Regions from separate parts of the Homo sapiens genome. Here region 2 is linked to region 1. The links are contacts of gene promoters, found by promoter capture Hi-C in blood cells and fetal thymus (Javierre and others, 2016). All regions are on one chromosome and are shown on one strand. Each heading gives the region's core, a stretch centred on a gene start or on the middle of the fragment in contact. The rest is flanking DNA. Distances are from core to core; before and after follow the strand shown. Region 1 holds the start of VPS50 (VPS50 subunit of EARP/GARPII complex). Region 2 overlaps COL1A2 (collagen type I alpha 2 chain).

Evidence for each region. Contacts are between HindIII fragments. The CHiCAGO score rates a contact against its expected background, and 5 or more counts as called.
Region 2: a fragment that was not itself captured here is called in contact with the fragment with the promoter of VPS50 in region 1 in 1 of 17 cell types (naive B cells); the score reaches 5.1 in naive B cells.

The regions. Positions count from the first base shown.
Region 1 is chr7:93,230,503-93,233,746 of GRCh38, reverse strand. VPS50 (VPS50 subunit of EARP/GARPII complex) reads right to left here and starts at 1,381. Exons shown (of 28, transcript NM_017667.4): 1 at 1,247-1,381. The coding sequence starts at 1,279. It also overlaps a transcript of HEPACAM2 not described here. RefSeq lists enhancers at 861-920, 1,161-1,210, 1,301-1,470, 1,611-1,680. The HindIII fragment of the contact is 4,774 bases long and covers 1-3,244 here.
Region 2 is chr7:94,400,414-94,403,660 of GRCh38, reverse strand. It overlaps COL1A2 (collagen type I alpha 2 chain), which reads right to left. Exons shown (of 52, transcript NM_000089.4): 6 at 2,041-2,094. Among named protein-coding and RNA genes, the nearest start is that of COL1A2, 7.1 kb to the right of the region's middle. The HindIII fragment of the contact is 1,298 bases long and covers 1,114-2,411 here.

The DNA of each region.
Region 1 (3,244 bases), core at 132-2,631:
GATACAGCAGGACCCAAACTCATCGTCAAGTAAGAAGTAGTAGGACGCACAACACCAGTACTCAACACATGTGAGGAATTAACAAATGTTACTAGCCACTTACTTAAATATTTTTATTATTCACAGAACATTTTGATTATATTTTCATAACATTAACAAAATGCTCTGACATAACTAAAATAATCATGTAAGGGTCATTTGTGCATTGTGCAAGAGAAATACACAATTTGTATCCTGTTTATATATCTCTCAAATTGTGAATTCTCAAATAAGAATGTGGAATTTGAGTTATTTTTGTAATCAACAAGAAAAAAACTCACAAATATACCTTTCACTAAACGATTACCTTCCACATTCTCCAAACTTCTAAAAGCCATGTTGATTTAAAACTCTAATCTTAACTATCTTTCATATTAAAATAATAAAATGACCAATTCTAGTGAAATATTAAAGCTGAAGTAAATAAAGGCAGCTAAAACAAAGTCATAATCAATAAGTACATAAAAGAAAATTTCTGCACTTCTTAAATGAAGCTGAGGCATTATTACGAGGTCCCTAACATTTATGAGACAGGTTACAAAATAGCCAAAGCTCTTATTCATGAATTTCCATTCTGGGGAAAAAAAAGAAAAGATCAGTATTTTGCCATGACAAAAATAAATTTTTTAAAGCAGAATTTCACAAAGAGTTTTCACATATATTAGCTTATCGATGACCCTCATAACAGAACTGTGAAGTAAAATGAACAAAAATAATTATTTTCACATCCAGAAACGTAAGCTACAAAGTTTGGGGACTTGCCCAAAATCCAAAAGCTACTAATTCTGTCTTCAAATCATCCGTTTTCAGTCTTTCCAGGTCACCTCTACTGCACAGACCACACCACCCTACCCAGGCTATCAGCTCGCATATGACAGACAGCCTGGATGCGGAAGACCTTGCAAGGAAGCTCGGGCTGTTCTGGAAAGACGGCAAAAAGAGGAGGAGGGGAGACAAAGATACCCTGATTCCTTCAATGACTTATTTTTAAACGAATATTTCTGGGAGGCTGGTACCCGCTGGAGCAGTGCTCCAACCCAGGCGGCCCAGGTGAGTTTTCTAGGGTATGCCCCGGCTTCCCAGTCCCCCTGACACCTGCCACCACCCATAACTTAGATCCCCGCCCGCCACTGGTTGGGGACAGAACATCTCGGCTCCTCTCACTTCCGAGATGAAGGAAGCCTTTGCTTCAGCCGCCGCGACTTACCTGTCGGGTCATGAGAGATTTGATTTTTTGCATATCGAAATCCTGAGGAGGGTACCCTGCCTCAAAGAGCTAACAAATCACACCGAGCCACTACACAGCTGGCCCTGACACTAGGAAGCCATAGTGGGTGGTCACGTGGAGGAGCCGACCCAGGGTATCCTGTCTTTCCCTGGGCCTGCTGGGAACTGTAGTCTTCTGGACGCCGGCGGTAGCAACGATGAACTAAAGTGGCCAACCCAGGGACTACATCTCCCAGCAAGCAAAAGAGCGGGTGCTTCAGTTAAGCCGGTAAATATTACTGCTCAGAGCGACCACTGCGATCGCCGGTCTTACAAAGGTGCTTGCACTAGGCAGTAGCTACTCTTCGGCGAGACGGAAACCTAAGTCACAGGTGACTAGGCGTTGAGCGAAAGATCAAACTCAGAGGAGACAATATATAAGCCAGATTGACGCGATGTCCCCTAGGAGTGTGAGGGAGGAAACCTCACCTGGTCTAGAGGGGCGGGGTGGGAGAACGAGAGACTGACGCGAAGGAGAAGGAACTCAAGAAAGGGCTGTCACTGAGGGGTAACCTGAGAACTCGAGACTACCCCGGGCGCGCTGGGTTTGGCCTGAGGAAAGGTGTGCTCTAGGTTGCCCAATAGGCGGCCCTCCAGGTTTAGGGCTGTTCTACCTCAGTCTTGGTATCCCCTGCAAAAGCTCTAAAATCGAAGGATTTTGACGCCCGCCTATTATTTTACCTCCGTACTCTAAAGCAGTGATGACGGGAAATACGACAATAACGAGTATACCTGTCACTTTAAAGTCCTCTTTTCAACTTTTGGCAGTTTAGTTAAATTGGGGAAAGGAACAGAAGTGTCTTTGGGGACACAATTTTAAAAGGACTTTACAATTATGAGAATATGAGAAGAAGAAGAAAAAGCAGCCCTAAAGCTAACAATGATAGCTAACACTTATCGAAAGCCGAGTACCTGTCAGGAACTGCTAATAGCTTTAAATATATGATTTCATTTATCCACACAAGAATCCTGTGGGTTCCCATTTTAAAGATGACGAAGCAGGTATGGCGAAATTAAGGAACTTGCCTAAGATTACTGCAGATGTGCAAGTAGAAACTGAAGGATTAATCGGTCATCAGATGTGTTAAGATTTTCATGTATTGTGCTGAAGAAAGTTCTAAAGCATGGCACCAATTTTTTTAAGTTTATTTTATTATAATGTTAACTTCTAAAAGTATGACACAGACCCATAATTTCAAAAATATTTCTTAGAATAAAAAAAGTTCAAGTGTGTCAACGTAATAAAAAATACTAGGTAAACAATAGTATGGGTGGTAGTCAGATATGGCAAAACTAATAAAGGTGATTTGCAAATGACTGAAGTTTGGGGGACACTAACAGAGGTTATTTCTGATTCTGAAATTCTATTTTCTCACCCCTTAGAGCCTCGTTTTATTAATTTTTACAAATGAGGTTGTAATATTTTAATATTTTATATAGGGCTTTGTAAGGATAAGTGAGATGATGTAGGTGAATGAAATGTATAAATTGTAAAGCACTATACAATTATGAGGTATTATTGGTTTTGATTCTGCCCAGTTCTCTACTCCAACAGAACCACCTTGTGCATACTTGTATCATCACTGCGTTCAGCAATTCCTTTGAAATTATATGTTTACCTATATGCTTCTCTGACTCTGTTATTTCTAACCCCTTCAAGAAATTCTGGTCACATTTAGGGCAAGTCTAGTTTAGTTTATTCTTTACCTTCTCTAATCTTAATTGTCAGACTGTTCTTTGTGTGTGAAAATCTGCAATATTTAGAAGTCCCTGAAAGCATCAAAAGAAACAAAAACTGCCAGCCATATTAGCCTATAAAATAAAACCCAAGTCAATAAACATTTCTTGATTGTTGCGCTCAAGGCAACACTAAAATAAGCACTTTGATTAATAATCTATGGTTGTGGTCACAAGGAGTTCACAACTGGGTTTAAAAGCA
Region 2 (3,247 bases), core at 513-3,012, 1.2 Mb before region 1:
TGAAATAACATGGATTTTATCTAAAATGTATGTCATTTTAATTATAAGAATTATTCATTTGGTTTTAGAAATTGCTCTGACATTAAAAGAAACTGTCACTTTTCCATCACAATAGCTTTTTAGGCATACATTAAAAAATAATTTTCTTTGACATCATGAATTTCTAATTATATTTATTTTTTCATGTATTTGCAACAATTTCATTTACATAAAATGTAGTGTATTTCATGGAGGCTGTGATTACTCATTAATTCAGAGAAGAACCCTGTGGGGTTTTATAGTTATTGATTTTCCAACATGGAAATTATTTTAATACTTTATTGCTGCCTATCTTCCCTATTTGTGAAACAGATATCTGTTGATTACATATGTCTGTGCATGTGTGTGGATGTGCAAGCTTAAATTATATTTCACTGATATTTCAAAGTAAAATACTCTGCTTTATGCCAAGACAGATGTTCCGAAAACAGGGGTATCTGAAATCCATATTAATTTTCCCAGCTTAGTGGGCTTTTTAAAAATGACATTTAGTAGCTCTTTACTTTCCGCCCCCTTGCTTCTTCTTGAGATGTAGGTACTGCTTTAAAACTGACTAATGTCCAGCATTAGCTGAAACAGCTAATTTCAAAAATCCAATATAAACAAAGCCAAAAGAAACACTCTACTTTTTCATTTCAGATATGAACATTTTAAACTACCAGAAAAAATTAGGGAATTAGAAGTCGTCAATTAAAGGTACATTATTTCTCAAGTGGGAGTTTTAATTTACAGAAAATATTATCTCACCCTTAGAGTATATTAGCTTACTGTGGGCCATTAGCTCCAGCAGAACATCTTCTTTTGAAGATAGAGCACTAAGTGCACTGCCCAGGTAAAATTTACATTTTAAAGACCTTGTTGACTTTGGGCAGATAAATACCTTTGTTTTGAAACAATTAATTAAAATCACTAAATTGCGTGTGTGTGTATACATTAAATTCTGTAGTGCTTAATCAACCTAACACTTTGACTTCTGGCAGTTTTCCCCTCTATTTCATATATGCTAGTATACATTTTGCATGCTCGTATTAGCATTTTTCCCTTCAAACTTCTCTCTAATGCTTGTTAGAAGCTTCATTTGTTAATAGTCATCATCATCATCATCATCATATAGGGAATGTTTCTAAGCGGTGCTCCACTGATAGGGTATGGTGCTGAATATTTGTACTGAGTGACATAAATGCTAGATTTTTACTCATACTCTCTTCTATATAGATTTACAATCAATAGACTAAAAAAGGATTTTTTTGGTCAAAATTCAGAAAAAGAAACATTTCCTATATTGTTAACTCCTTGAGGAAGGATCAGAATCTGTCATATTCCTTGTAATTTCCCCAGTTCCTAATACAGTTTAGGGCCCATTGAAGGCATCTGATTAATATCTGTTGACTAAATGAGTGGTTTATTCAAGGACTAGGTACATAAACCATGATGTAAGCAAATATTAGACATCTTGCCTGGCATCTAGTTCTAGTTATGTCATTAGTTACCTGGATGACTTTGAGAAAAGGGCTTAAACTCTCCCATTTTAAAATGAGTTAGCTGGACTAGATAGAACTTGTTGATCCTTTCCAACAAGTTCAGAGAACTTAATAAATAGTTCTATGCCTCTAAGTGTTGCTTAAAATTCTAAGCAATGTTAAAGAATATTAAAAAATTAATCAGAGTGATTACTGTTTTAAATTAAATTGATTTGCCCAAGTTATGGTTACTATGTCCAAAGATTATTTCTTGGACATAAGTATATGATCTATCTTAATGAGGATCATATAATCAAAAAGATCATATAATCATAAAAGATCAATTAATCTTTCTTTTGTAAAGAAAAGTGAACTCCTTAACTTATGTTTTCATAAATTTGAAAACAAAAAGAGTTGTTTTTATATAATCTAAGTATTGAGTGTTAACTTAGGTAGCTAAATAAATGGCGTGGTAAAATGTGACATAAAATGAATGATTTATTTAGCAATTTTTTTGGCTAAGATAAACAGATAAGCATACCATTGGTCCAGGGCCAAGTCCAACTCCTTTTCCATCATACTGAGCAGCAAAGTTCTAGAGAAGTAAAAAAAAAAAATTATATATATATATAAAATATTTTTAGTTACTAGTCATGTAGTTCATTTTCTCATTCTACTTGTAAATATTTTTCTGTTGTTATTTAAAAGAGGGCAATGTTTTTGATATAATTATTAGTTTAAAATTCTATATTGAACTAAATTCCTAAAAAGTTATGAGAGCTGTACGTCAAAAACTTGGCCGACACCTCTTTGAAATGGAGAACTTCCCTACTTTACTTTTTGAGCCCTTCCTCTGCCTTAACTCGGTGTCTCCACTCCCACCTTTTACCTCTACTCTGAGGAAGGGAAGCTTTCTAAACTTTTAATGTTACTAAGGGCTCCTGACAAATTAGACAGAGCTCAAGAGGACATCTTCACATTTTCACCTGTTGCCCTTCCCCACCGGAGCTACACAAAATGACTAAGAGATCTTTTTCTTGCTGGAGTTTCAGGAAGGGCATAAAGAGTTTTCAAGTTTAGAGGAAAATTAAATTAAAATACCCCTTGGAAGATAAAACTTCTAAAAACTAGTTCACAGTAATAACTTTACTGTTAAAGATCTCTCTTATAGTGGTAGCTCTATTAAAGAAGCTGCTTTTTAATGCAATTCATAGATAAGCAATCATAATAAGATCTTTGGGGGAGAAAGGTCTTATTTTACTGACATACAGTTGGGTATTAGAATCAGGCTTCTGATTCATAGTGCTAACCAATTAAGCAAATATGTTTTCCTTCCTGCAGTGAGGTCATTTGGCACTCATACCATTGTTAAAGACATGAAGCTAAAAGAAGATATTAATGAAAAAGGGAAATGTACTTTTCTCAAATTAGTTTCAAGCAAATTAAACCTAAAACCGCTTTGAATGTTGGTTCAGCAGACTTCAAGTCAAGGAGAATAAAAAGCGTAGGATGTTTGTAAAATTGCTTAAGATCAGGGATTTCACTTACACAGTTCAATCTAATCAAAATCCTTAATAATGCAACACCTCTTATTTGTGCCTTACTAATAAAAGATATTAAATCTCCAAATTAAATAATGGTAATGATGGCCACAGCTAACTTCAGTGCACACAAAGACCAGTCCTGTAATTGACAAGGGCTCACAAAGAGAATGGGTAAAGCAGAATCTTGAGTGAAAAAACCAAATA